Regions from separate parts of the Homo sapiens genome. Here region 2 is linked to region 1. Evidence: promoter capture Hi-C in human tissues and cell types (Jung and others, 2019). All regions are on one chromosome and are shown on one strand. The core of a region is centred on a gene start or on the middle of the fragment in contact, and the rest is flanking DNA. Distances in the headings are between cores, read along the strand shown. Region 1 holds the start of CCDC83 (coiled-coil domain containing 83). Region 2 overlaps DLG2 (discs large MAGUK scaffold protein 2).

Region 1 (7,345 bases), core at 753-3,252:
AAACATGTGCTGTGTCCACTCAGGGTTAAATGGATTAAGGGCGGTGCAAGATGGGCTTTGTTAAACAGATGCTTGAAGGCAGCATGCTCCTTAAGAGTCATCACCACTCCCTAATCTCAAGTACCCAGGGACACAAACACTGCGGAAGGCCACAGGGTCCTCTGCCTAGGAAAACCAGAGACCTTTGTTCACTTGTTTATCTGCTGACCTTCCCTCCACTATTGTCCTATGACCCTGCCAAATCCCCCTCTGCGAGAAACACCCAAGAATGATCAATAAAAAAAAAAAAAAAAAAGAAGAAAAGAAAAGGGCCCCAAAGTGACGTCAGCCCCATCTCAAATTCAAACCCCATAGTAAACGAACAAGATAGACCTTAACTACTGACTAATTCTCCAAAGCAAAAAGTCAGGAAAATAAAAAAATCTCGTTAAGCTGTAAAAAATAAAAATAAAAATAAAAATACATATCCAGGTACATACTCTTTCTTTCTTTGAGACAGAGGCTCGCTCTGTCACCCGTGCAGTGGCAGTCTCGGCTCACTGAGATCTCAGCCTTCCAGGCTCAAGCAATTCTTCGGCCTCCACCTCCGAAGTAGCTGGGACTACAGGCACTCACCACTATGCCTGGCTAATTTTTCGTAGAGATGGGGTTTCGCCATGTTGCCTACGCTGGTCTCAAACTCCTTACCGCAAGCAATCTGTCCACCTCGGCCTCCCAAACTGCTGAGATTACAGGCGTGAGGGATTGTAGGCGTGAGGGATTACAAGCATGAGCCACCGCGCCCTGCTATATTACTTATTTCTTAAACACCTGCAATTCATTAAAATACACCATGTATAAATTATAAATCATAATATTATCAAGAACTGTTATTTCTAAGTGCTGAATAAATGAATATTTCCACTCATTAAAAAAAAAAAAAGTTGTCCGTTCAAAGCCAGTGTCAAGTACCAAAAAAAGAAAATTATCTTGCGGCAGATAATGAGAAATAATGCAGGAGAGGAAAGAGGAACTTTAAAGGCTGTACGTGTAGGATTTTCTTTTTCTCTCTCGGAGGAAAGAACAGCAAAAAGCGAAGAGTGGGAAATGCTGGACTTAAATTCCTTTCTTTAGGTTTACGAACAAAAAAGGAAAGCGAGAAGAAAAACAGAATCAAGGACTTATACAGCAGGAAGTTGCCCTGTAAGCATTTAGTCCAGGGACCTGCCATTCTTATTAAGAGCTAAAACCAAAGAATTAGTGCACGAAAGTAGAAAGAAGACAAGCCGCCATTGTGGAAGGAGCGCAGCGGGACAGAGGCGCGCAGAAGCCTCACCAGACAACCAGGCCCCGTCCCCGTCCCCCGAACTGTGCGGAAAGCGCCACCGAGTCCAGGCGTCTCATTTTACAGCGGAAGACACAAACTCTGAGATCCAAATGACCTGCTCACGGTCACAGCACGAAGCCCGTGGGCCCTGTGTCTACAGTCACCAACTTCCAGGCTTGCGACTAAAGGGAGCCAACGAGCGCGTGAGCGTTTGAGACCAGCTGGCTGAGGGACGCCGAAAATCCCGCGCGGAGGAAGGCGGGAGAGCGCTACCGCTGCTACCAAGGCGGCGGCGCGGGCGCTCGGCCGGGACCCTTCCCTGCGTCGCCACCAGATGGCGCGCTCGGCCCGCCGTTCGCGGCTAAGCTAGGGCGGGTGGGGAGGGAGTAGGGAGGAGGACGTCGGTTGCCTTGGAAATGCAGGGCGCAGCAGCCGCTGCAGTGGAGCCGGTAGGCCTGGCCGGCGGGCTGAAAGGAAGTGCGAGCTGTCCGCCCAGGGCCGGGTATCCGCCCCTGCAGGCTGTGGAGGGGATGTCAGGAGACTGGCTGGCCTCTTTTCTTGGCCCCCGACTCCTTCCAGTCTGACACTGAAGACTTTATAAGCTTCCCCCCGACCACCCTCCACGGGCTCCACTCTCCACGGGCCTGGGCTTGCGCCGCTTCGAGATCAGCCTGGGGGTCGCGCCCTCCTGGTCTTGTCCACGAAGCGCCGTTCTTGGGCCGTTAGGAGCTGCTGGGAAGGGCTCTGATAGGCCCACTCCTCTTCTCCACCCAGGAGATGAGAAGGAGGGCAGGCCTTTTTAATCTGATCAGAATGTTAACCCATCTCTCCGCCTTGCGGTAGAACCCCTGGATACATTATTTGCCCTCTCGAAAGGCAGGCTCTGAATTTGATTCAGGTTTGTAACCTTCACGGTGCCCTCACACAGCCCCTAGCACACAGCAGACGCAGAGCAGACTAAGAATGCCTTCCATTCTTATGAGGCTTTATCACTTGACAGTTTTCCCAAAGCGTTTGGAGCCTCATAGCCCGGACAGCAACTAGGACAGATGGAGGAGGAAACAGGTCAGAGGTTCAGAGACTTGGCCTAGGTTATACAACTCTGTGCAGGAGCTGGGACTAAGCTCGGTCTTGCTTCTCTTAGTGCCTCTCTCACCAAATTCTGAGTCTAGTGAATGCTTTCTGAGGACCTCACATACTCTTGCATCCTTCTCAATACCAGCGCAATGCTCTTCCGCTGTAGGTACTTCATATGTGCTAAGTGTGTTATTGATGTCTTTTACCCTCATATCCCAATTCATAGATTGGTTTCAACTTCTTGCTCTGGATACTACAACATTCTTCTAAAGAAAACACTTGGTTTCTTTTATGAATTTGTCACATTTGTACAGTGCCATGTTGTTGCCTCACTCCCTTCCTTATCCCATAATTTTCTGCTGGGCAAGAGAGAGAGTTGAGGAAGTGATTAAGAGATGGGAAAAAGTGCCCTATCTAAGCCAAAAAAAAAAAAAAAAAAAGGAAAAGAAAGATTCCTGTGATGACAGAGGGGAAAAATAATGACTGGGTATTTATCAGTCTATGTGATAATTGCTCATGGATTGCCTTACAGCCACCTCCAGAAGATCCTCTTTAGACTCACTACTGCTATTTGAAGGTAGAAAGAAGCCTTTTTGTTCTCTACCATTATTATTGCATATTTTTCCCTTATCCTCATAATAATATTTTCATAGTTATTTTTCTTTTCTTTGTTGATAATTCTAAAACTGAAGGACAGTAAGAGTGGGAAAAAAATGTAGTTCTGGTTACTAGAGAAGTTAGTGTAATATACTGCAGTTCAAACTATTTGATATTAGCAACTCTGGATCAGAAGACGGACTAATTTTAAAGCTAAGACTCCAATATCTTTGGGTACTGCAGTAGAAAAATGTGCCATGACTAAAGGATTGGTGAAGAAAATACATGCTAATGTAATGTACATCATCAGTCGTCCAAGTGAAACTTGAAAATGTCACTCATCTAGATATTTTTAAATACCTTGATTTTAATATATGATTTTAACATATTTCCAAACCGGGCAAATTTTACATTTTAACACTAACAATTTTGGTCCCTATCATATATACATAATCAATATGAAAAGCGGTCTCAATTTTTAAAATTAATGTTTTAGGTGGTACTATTACCACTGAATGGCTTTAAATTAATTCAGGATTTTTAAAAACATTTACTGGAGACCATTTCTAATTAAGTTAAACATGTGTTCTGTGCAATCTCATTTGCAGTAGCCACAAAACGAATAAACTACCTGGGAACCCCCTGCCCAGTGCCATACCCCCAGTGCCTGTCCCCAGATCGAGGCTTGGGCCCCTTCAGCCATGTCTATCACAAGCACCACCAGCATGTCTGACAAACTGCCCTACAAAGTCACTGACATTGGCCTGGACTTCTGGGGATGCAAAGCCCTGGATATTGTGGAGAACCAGATGCCGGGCCTGACGTGCATGTGGGAGCTGTACTCAACCCTCCAAGCCCTCGAAGGGCACGCGCATCACCAGTTGCCTCCATAGGACCCATGGAGATGGCCATCCTCATTGAGACCCTCATTACCCTGGGTGCCAAGCTGCAGTGGTCCAGCTGCAACATCACCCAGGACCATGAGGCAGCTGCCATTGCCAAGGCTGGCATTCCAGTTGTACGCCTGGAAGGGCGAAACAGAGGAGGAGTACCTGTGGTGCACCAAGCAGACATTATACTTCAAAGACGGCCTCCTCAACGTGATTCTGGATGTCGCTTGGGCCCCCACCAACCTCATCCACACCAAGTACCCACAGCTCTTGTCGGGGATGTGAGGCATCTTCAAGGAGACCATGATTGGGGTCCACAAGCTACACAAGATGATGGCCAATGGGATCCTGAAAGTGCCTGCCATCAATGTCAACAACTCCGTCACCAAGAGCAAGTTTGACAACCTCTCCGGCTGCCAGGAGTCCCTCATAGATAGCATCAAGTGGGCCACAGACGTGATGATTGCCAGCAAGGTAGCAGTGGTAGCAGGCTGTGGCGACATGGGCAAAGGCTGTGCCCAGGCCCTGTGGGGTTTCAGGCCCATGTCATCATCATCAAGATCGACCCCATCAACATACTGCAGGCTGCCATGAAGGGCTATGAGGTGGCCACCATAGACGAGGCCTGTCAGGAGGACAACATCTTTGTCACCACCACAGGCTGTGTTAACATCATCCTTGGCTGGCACTTTAAGCAGATGAAGGATGATGCCATCATTTGTAACACTGGACACTTTGACATGGAGATTGATGTCAAGTGGCTCAACAAGAATACTGTGGAGAGAGTCAACATCAAGCCCCAGGTGGACTGGTATCAGCTGAAGAATGCACACCACATCATCCTGCTAGCTGAGGGTCAGCTGGTCAACCTGGGTTGTGCCATGGGCCACCTCAGCTTCTTGATAAGTAACTCCTTCACCAACCAAGTGATGGCGCAGACTGAGCTGCAGACCCACCCAGACAAGTACCAGGTTATGGTTCTCTTCCTGCCCAAGAAGCTGAATGAGGCAATGGCTGAAGCCCACCTGGGCAAGCTGAATGTGAAATTGACCAAGCTGACTGAGCTGCAAGCCCATTACCTGTACTTGTCCCGTGATGGCCCCTTCAAGCCAGATCACTACCACTACTGAAAGCCAGACCTGCCCTTCGCCTTCCAACTGCTGTCCTTGTCCAGGCCCTGCCTCTCCTCCCTAAGAGCAAATGGCACCCACTTTGTGATTGGTTTGTCAGTGTCCCCTATTGACTCCCTGGGGCTGGTCACTCAGTTTTTGGCCTCTGCTGCATCCCTCATACTGTTCCAAGTGTGGCAGGGGGAATTGAGAGGCCCCTCCTCAAGCCTTGGTCATGATAGGGGTACAAGGGAGACAGCCACAGGGAACTATGAATTCAATGATCTTGGAACTTCTCACTAAGTCAGTCCTTCCTTAGCCTGGAAGTTGGTAATGGAGTCACAAAGCCCATATACTTTACCATCTAGGCATTCACCCGGTCTGTGGACTTATACCTGTGTGCTTGGTTCACAGGTTCAGTGGTACCTCAGCCCATGACAGAAAAGCAGCAGCTATATTGAAGGGCAAAGAGGAACTGTTGTTTGAATTTTCCTGAGAGCCTGACTTAGTGCTGGGCCTTCTCTTCCACCTCATAACAATGAGGTTGGTACTTTTAGTCTCTGTTTTATAGGAGTTAGAATAGACTGTTAAGGGACAACTGAGAAAGGACAGAGAATTGATAGCCAGAGGTTGAGAGGGGCCATAAAAACATAAAAGCAAGCATAGATCTGCTACCACTTTGTAACAAGATAATTCCTATCACAACCCTGGGTCAAAAAGAGAATAATCTGGTCCATAATGTTTATGTTAAAAAAAAATAAAAAGCAGGAAGGTGGGTAAATAAAAATCTTGGTGCCTTAAAAAAAAAAAAAAAAAAAAAACCCCTAGGAATACAGCTTACCAAGAAGGTAAATGAGTTCTACAATGAGAATTTCAAAACACTGCTGAAATAAGTCAGAGATGAACACAAACAAATGGAAAAACATTCAATGTCATTTTTCATGGAATTAAACAAAACTATTCTAAAATTCATATGGAACCAAAACAGAGCCCTAATCACCAAATCAACCCCAAACAATAAGAGCAAAGCCAGGGGAATCACACTACCCAACTTCAAACTATATTACAAGGCTACAGTAACCCAAACAACATGGTACTGTTACAAAAACAGACATATAAACTAATGGAACAGGTTAAAGGACCCAGAAATAAAGCCACACACCTACAACTACTGGTTTTGTGACAGAGTCAATGATAACAAACAATGGGGAAAGAACTCCCTATTCAATAAATGGTGCTGGGATAACTGGCTAGCCATATGTGGAAGATTGAAACTGGACCCCTTCCTTTTACCACATACAAAAATTAACTCAAGATGAATTAAATACTTAAATGTAAGACCTAAAACAACAAACACTCTAGAAGAAAACCTAGGAAATACCATTCTGGACATTGGCCTTGGCAAAGAATTTATGACTAAATTCCCAAAAGCAACTGCAACAACAACAAAAAATAGACAAGTGGGACTAATTAAAGAGCTTCTGCACAGCAAAAGAAACTATCAACAGAGTAAACAGACAACCTGCAGAATGGGAGAAAATATTCACAAGCCATGCATCCAACAAAGGTCTAATATCCAGAATCTATAAGGAACTTAATTCAGCAAACAAAAAGCAAATAACCCCATTTAAAAATAAGAGAAGGACAGGCTGGGTGTGGTGGCTCCCGCCTGTAATCCCAGCACTTTGGGAGGCTGAGGCAGTCAGATCACAAGGTCAGGAGATCGAGATAGTCCTGGCTAACACGGTGAAACCCCGACTCTACTAAAAATACAAAACAAATAAATAAATAAATTAGCCAGGCATGGTGGCACGTGCCTGTAGTCCCAGCTACTCGGGAGGCTGAGGCAGGAGAATCACTTGAACCCTGGAGGCAAAGGTTGCAGTGAGCCGAGATTGTGCCACTGCACTCCAGCCTGGGCAACAGAGTGAGACTCCGTCTCAAAAAAAAAAAAAAAAAAAAAGAAGGCAAAGAACATGAACAGATACTTTTCAAAAGAAAACATACATGTGGCCAACAAATATATGAAAAAATGCTCATCATCACTAATCATTAGATAAATGCAGATCAAAACCATGATAAGATACTATCACACAGGAATCACAATGGTAATTATTAAAAAGACAAAAAACAACAGATGCTGGTGAGGTTTAGCAGAAAAGGGAACACTTATACACTGCTGGTGGGAGTATTAAAGAACACGTGGAAAGCAGTGTGAAGATTTCTCAAAGAACTTAAAACAGAAATACCATTCAACCCAGCAATCTCGCTACTGGATATATACCCTAAGGAAAATAAATCATTCTGTGAAACAGACACATGGACTCATGTTCATCGCAGCACTGTTCACAGTAGCAAACACATAA
Region 2 (7,145 bases), core at 994-3,493, 240 kb before region 1:
TCTTAGCCAGAGGGGCCAGGGCCCTCAGCAAGGAATGAATACAGCCTATACTGGCTTATCATCACCCTAAGACATTAAAACAGTTGCAGGGGTTCCTTGGAATCACGGGCTTTTGCCGACTATGGATCCCCGGATACAGCGAGATGGCCAGACCACTCTATACTCTAATCAAGGAGCCCCAGAGGGCAAATACTCATCTAGTAGAATGAGAACCAGGGTCAGAAACAGCCTTCAAAACCTTAAAGCGGGCCCTAGTACAACTCCAGCTTTAAGCCTTCCCACAGGACAAAACTTATCTCTATATGTCACAGAGACAGCAGGGATAGCTCTTGGAGTCCTTACGCAGGCTCATGGGATGAACCCCCAACCAGTGGCATACCTAAGTAAGAAAATTGATGTAGTAGCAAAAGGCTGGCCTCACTGTTTAAGGGTAGTTGTGGCAGTGGCCATCTTAGTGTCAGAGGCTATCAAGATAATACAAGGAAAAGATCTCACTGTCTGGACTACTCATGATGTAAATGGCATACTAGGTGCCAAAGGAAGTTTATGGCTATCAGACAACTGCCTACTTAGATACCAGGCACTACTCCTTGAAGGACCGGTGCTTCAAATACCTATGTGTGCAGCCCTCAACCCTGCCACTTTTCTCCCAGAGGATGGGGAACCAATCAGCATGACTGCCAAACTTATAGTCCAAACTTATGCCGCCCGAGATGATCTCTTAGAAGTCCACTTAGACTGATGGAAGTTCATTTGTGGAGAATGGGATACTACGGGCAGGTTATGCCATAGTTAATGATGTAACCGTACTTGAAAGTAAACCTCTTCCCCCAGGGACCAGTGCCCAGTTAGCAGAACTAGTGGCACTTACCCGAGCCTTATAACTGGGAAAGGGAAAAAGAATAAATGTGTATACAGATAGCAGATATGCTTATCTAATCCTACATGCCTATGCTACAATATGGAAAGAAAGGGAGTTCCTAACCTCTGGGGGAACCCCCATTAAATACCACAAGGAAATCATGGAGTTATTGCACTCAGTGCAAAAACCCAAGGGGGTGGCAGTCTTACACTGTCGAAGCCATCAAAAAGGGGAAGGAGAGGGGAGAACAGCAGCATAAGCAGCTGGCAGAGGCAGGGAAAGACCAGCAGAGAGAGAGAGAGAGGAAGAGACAGAGATATAGAGAGAGAGAAAAAGAGAGATAGGAAGTCAAAGAGAGAGACAGAGAGGAAGAGACTGAAAGTCAAAGAGAGAAGGAAAGAGAGGAAGATACAAAGGAGTCAAAGAGACAGAAAGAAATAGAAGTAGTAAAGAAAAAACAGTGTACCCTATTCCTTTAAAAGTCAGGGTAAATTTAAAACCTATAATTGATAATTGAAGGTCTTCTCTGTAACCCTATATCACTCCAATACCACCTTGTTGTCAGTGTCAACAAGGGCATAGCCCGAAAGCACTGAGGCCACTGACAACCCATAGCCTTCCTATCAAAAATCCTTAACCCAGCAGGTTTCCCAACAAGGGATCTAAATCTTAACTAATTATCATACGAAGGTCTGACCAGACCTAGGAGGAACTCCCTTCAGGACAGGATGATAGATGGTTCCTCCCAGGCAAGTAAGGAAACAAAGACACAATGGATATTCAGTGAGGAAACTCTTGTAGAAGCAGAGTTAGGAAAATTGCCTAATAATTGGTCTGCTCAAATGTGCGAGCTGTTTGCACTCAGCCAAACTTTAAAGTACTTACAGAATCAGGAAGGAGCCATCTATACCAATTTTAAGTTAATATGGACTGAACGAGGTCTTACTAATAGCAAAGAATAATTGAAATCCCAAACTTACAAGGTTTTCAACAAAAGTAAAGTTTGCTAAAAGTTTACAGTGTAACATATATTATCCTAACTTCTAATCTTATGAAAATCAGACCTTATCAGTACCCCTCAAAGCTCAAGTCCATCAGCGCAGAGCCATACAACTAATACCCCTACTTATAGGGTTAGGAATGGCTACTGCTACAGAAACTGGAATAGCAGGTTTATGTACTTCATTATCCTACTACCACACACTCTCACAGGAATTCTCAGACAGTTTGCAAGAAATAACAAAATCTATCCAGTAAGGATAGTAACCACAACCCCAAACAGACTCTTTGGCAGCAGTGACTCTCCAAAACTACCGAGGCCTAGACCTCCTCACTGCTGAGAAAGGAGGACTCTGCACCTTCTTAGGGGTAGAGTGTTGTTTTTATACTAACCAGTCAGGGATAGTATGAGATGCTGTCCGGCGTTTATAGGAAAAGGCTTCTGAAATCAGAAAACGCCTTTCAAACTCTTACCAACCTCTAGAGTTGGGCAATATGGCTCCTCCCCTTTCTAGGTCCCATGGCAGCCATCTTGCTGTTACTCGCCTTTGGGCCCTGTATTTTTAACCTGCTTGTCAAATTTGTTTCCTCTAGAATCGAGGCCATCAAGCTACCGATGGTCTTACAAATGGAACCCTAAATGAGCTCAACTAACAACTTCTACTGAGGACCCCTGGACTGACCCACCAGTCCTTTCACTGGCCTAAAGAGTTAACCTCTGGAGGACACCACAACTGCAGGGCCCCTTCTTCACCCCATCCAGCAGAAAGTAGCTAGAGCAGTCATCGGCCAAATTCCCGACAGCAATTGGGGTGTCCTGTTTAGAGATGGGATTGAGAGGTGAAGCCAGCTGGGCTTCTGTGTCAGGTGGGGACTTGGAGAACTTTTCTGTATAGCTAAAGGATTGTAAATGCACCAATCAGCTCTCTGTGTCTAGCTAAAGGATTGTAAATGCACCAATCTGTGCTCTGTGTCTAGCTAAAGGTTTGTAAATGCACCAATCAGCACTTGGTAAAAACGGACCAATCAGCACTCTGTAGAACAGAACAAGCAGCGCTCTGTAAAATGGACCAATCAGTAGGATGTGGGTGGGGCCAAATAAGGGAATAAAAGCATGCTGCCCGAGCCAGCAGCAGCAACCCGCTTGGGTCCCCTTCCACGCTGTAGAAGCTTTGTTCTTTCGCTCTTTGCAATAAATCTTGCTGCTGCTCACTCTTTGGGTATGTGCCACCTTTATGAGCTGTAACACACACTGTGAAGGTCTGCAGCTTCACTCCTGAAGTCAGCAAGACCACAAACCCACCAGGAGGAATGAACAACTCTGGACATGCCACCTTTAAGAGCTGTAACATGCACCGCGAAGGTCTGCAGCTTCACTCCTGAAGTCAGCGAGACCATGAACCCACCAGAAGGAAGAAACTCTGGACACATCCAAACATCAGAAGGAACAAACTCTGGACACACCATCTTTAAGAACTGTAACACTCACCACGAGTATCAGTGGCTTCATTCCTGAAGTCAACAAGACAGAATCCACTCATTCCAGACACAAAAGTATTTTACTAAGAAGTATTCACATATGCTTAATTCTTATTGTTGATGTTATTGCTTTTTTACAAATCAAGGACACTCATGAGAAAGTAATAAAGTAATGAATAGCAACAGAAAAGTTAGTCTTGAACCAGGTTTTTTTTTTTTTTTAAAAATTAACATTAAAATGTATAGTTCGGCCGGGCATGGTGGCTGACACCTGTAATCCCAGCACTTGAGGAGGCTGAGGCAGGTGGATACCTGAGGTCAGGAGTTCAAGACCAGCCTGACCAACATGGAGAAACCCCGTTTTTACTAAAAATACAAAATTAGCTGAGCATGGAGGCCCATGCCTGTAATCCCAGCTACTCAGGAGGCTGAGGCAGAAGAACAGCTTGAACTTGGGAGGCAGAGGTTGCAGTAAGCCAAAATGGCGCCATTGCACTCCAGCCTGGGCAACGAGAGTGCAACTCCATCTCCAAATAAATAAAACAAACGTACAGTTCAAGGTGATACCACAAAGGTGTCATTTTATTACTAATAATATTAGCTAGCATTTGTGGAACAATGCTAGGCATTCTGCACTGATCACCTTATTTAATCTTCAAAAGAATCCTAAGAACTACTACTATATACATTTTCACAAATGGGGAAATTTTAGACTGAGGGAAATAGAGTACATTTGCCCAAGGCTACATAACAGTAAGTGCTGGAACCACAATGCAAATGCTGATCTATCTGCCACCAAAGCCCATACAAAGCATTATGCCATATTGAAACTTGATTTACTAGGAAAGGATCACAATGCTTCTTTCTTCTATAATTATTCTTTGCAATTATACTTTACCCTCCCTAAAAAAGAATTGTTTGAATATACTTCAACTAACACCTGTTGATCTGGTTATTTTCCCTGTTGAAACAAGAAGATATTATTAATAGTATAAAACGGTAAATTTATATCTCTCCTTTCAGACAAGCCATGCTTTCAAATTTTCTATAAACTTGTTAAAGGGGAATGATAGAAAATGTGCAAGGCTACGCAGCAGTAAACAGAAAGTAAGAAAACAACGAATTGGCCAGGCATGTGGCTCATGCTTGTAATCCCAGCATTTTGGGAGGCCGAGGCAGACGGATCACTTTGAGCTCAGGAGTTCAAGACCAGCCTGGGCAACATGGCGAAACCCCATCTCTACTAAAAATACAAAAATTAGCTGGGCATGTGGTGGGTGCCTGTAATCCCAGCTACTCAGGAGGCTGAGGCAGGAGAATCGCTTGAACCCAGAAAGCAGAGGTTGCAGTGAGCTGAGATCATGCCACTGCACTCCAGCCTGGGCAACAGAGCAAGATTCCATCTCAAAAAAAAAAGATTAAAAATTGCATCTTCAGCTAAATACTGATTTTTGCATCATTCCAGATTTATTTATCTAGAAAAATAAATAAATAAATAAAATTTGGAATTTAAATAGTGAAGAATATGTATGGCAAGACTTAAAGCAGACCTGAAGACTGCAATCATTTTGTATATATTAGATGATTTACAAATTACTTTAGCATCTTTGGAGGAGAAATAATCTTAATAAGAAATGTTATAACCTGTTTTTTTTAAAAACACGCATGGCATCTCCTATCTGTGATCAAATGCATCATTGCCATATCTGGACAGGCTTGTTCCAGAAGCTGACCACGAAGCTGAACCCAAACCACTGATGGAAGGGGACTCTGACATTTCTCCTCCTTGAACCCACCCACCCCCCTAAAAAAAAATGCATTCAGATGATAAGCTTTTGTACAGCAGTTTCTTATCTACAAAATAATTTTTATATGGTCTAGGTCTCTTGATTTGATCCTCACAATAATCCTAAGAGGTATTAGTACTATACTTAAGTTTTAACAGGAAAAATTTGAAGCTCTATCTGTTGATTTGCTTAATGTAGTCAACTGATGGTAAAAGCTAGATTCCAATCCTGGGCTCTCCTCTACTGCACTATGATGCCATTCACTTGTTCAAAGACTACCACACTCATACAGTAAAAAGGAAAGCATCAGACAAGCTTCTGGTCCTAATTCCATCACTAACTAGCTTTGTAAAAGTGAAGTTCATGAACATTATCATATTTGATGGGAAAAAGAAACAGTATATAGTAAGGGGGAAAAAAGCATTAAATCCCTTTTTTAAAAGGAAACAAGTTCAGAAGGATTACATGATTTTCACAGGATCTTGGTGGCATCATCATAAGAAGGCAAGTAACCTGTATTTTACACATGGGAGATTGGTACTTTGAGATATTAAAACTTTTTTCTACCTAAATTTTCCCATTTCCTTTTTTCTCATTCCAGCGACAACTGGTTCCCTACTTTATTGCCTCAGGGGCGCTATATGCCAGGACAAAACCCAGAAGGAATTTTTCAGTAATTCCAGTTTTGCTTTCTAAAAACCTAAGCCCTCAGAATAAAATAAGAGTTTGTCAGAGATGAAAAAGAGATTCTCGGGTACAGGCAGAGAAAGGGACTTCTCCTAGCCCCTTCACAGCGTAGAAAAAAATTTTCCCAGCTGAAGAAAACATAAAAAAGTCTTTGGATCTCAAGGGATCAGGGATCTAGGCTCTTGTTATTGGCAACATTGCTTGGAAGGCAGCAAGACCCAAGAGGAATGGCATTGTAACGCATCTAGGCAAACAGAAACACAGACATTCTAGAAAAAGGTAAAAGTCCATGACTCGGACATATCAAATATCTGTCAAACCAGACGAGAAAGAGCTATCTAGACACAACAACTCATATGTCAGAAGTAAGCTGTTTTATATAGATGATCAACAACCAGAAGACACTCCCATTCCAGGCAGAACCCCACCTTAACCCCAGGGAAGTGGGGAAAACTTCAAAAAGGATAAGTTATTTTGTCTGTTACTCAGTTACTAAGAGTAAAGGTGAATTACAGAAAATAAATGGATACTTCTAACATACCTAAATTTACAGACCAAGTCCAGCTCACGGATTACCTGATCCTGTCCCTTCTTTTAGTAGCCAAATCTTCTGACTACTGTTCTAGGTTTTTTCCACCATGTCACTGCTATCGATGATGATGATAACACAGGATGTGATTATATAGTTCAAGGCCAAAAAACAAGAAAAATAAATAATGATCTGAAACAGCCTCTTGCCATTTCCCACATTGTCTGGTAAACTTCTATTCATCTTCTGTATCTCATCTTAAATATTACATCTTCCCTAGTGGGATTGAGTGTTCCTTGTCTGTTTTCTTGACAAAGAGCGTTAACCTCACCACACAGCATTGAAATTGCCTGTTTTTGCATCTGTCTTCCTAATATATTTTAAGATTCATACAGGCAGAGATTGAATATCATTTGCTACTTCAAACATGCATCTGGCACTATGCCTGGCACATAGCAGGCACTCATAATACACCTTTGTTGAATGGATAAATGATTGAATAAATAAATGAAAGTAGAGTCATTGCCTTAAATATATACACCAGTTTACACCATATATACACCAGTTTACCTTTTAAAAGAATTTTAGCTTGTTTATTACCTATGAGAGATGTTTAAATAGAACAGAACTTAATAGGTTTATTCCAAGTATTACCATGCTTTTAATGATAAAGATGTCACAGTCCTTCAAAATGATAAGCCCCTGATAGAAGCTTCAAAATTGTATCCTAAATTAGGGCCTCAGTGGCTAGCAAAATGGTGTTACCAGAAGAAATGGGTTACAAAAATCTTACCCATAATCT

Evidence for each region. Contacts are between HindIII fragments. The study calls those that stand out against the background at their distance.
Region 2: a fragment that was not itself captured here is called in contact with the fragment with the promoter of CCDC83 in region 1 in 1 of the 25 tissues and cell types used here (H1 embryonic stem cells).

The regions. Positions count from the first base shown.
Region 1 is chr11:85,853,381-85,860,725 of GRCh38, forward strand. CCDC83 (coiled-coil domain containing 83) reads left to right here and starts at 2,003. Exons shown (of 11, transcript NM_001286159.2): 1 at 2,003-2,204. It also overlaps a transcript of SYTL2 not described here and the pseudogene AHCYP6. The HindIII fragment of the contact is 10,338 bases long and covers 1-5,284 here.
Region 2 is chr11:85,610,771-85,617,915 of GRCh38, forward strand. All of the region lies in intron 2 of DLG2 (discs large MAGUK scaffold protein 2), which reads right to left. Among named protein-coding and RNA genes, the nearest start is that of DLG2, 13 kb to the right of the region's middle. The HindIII fragment of the contact is 3,716 bases long and covers 386-4,101 here.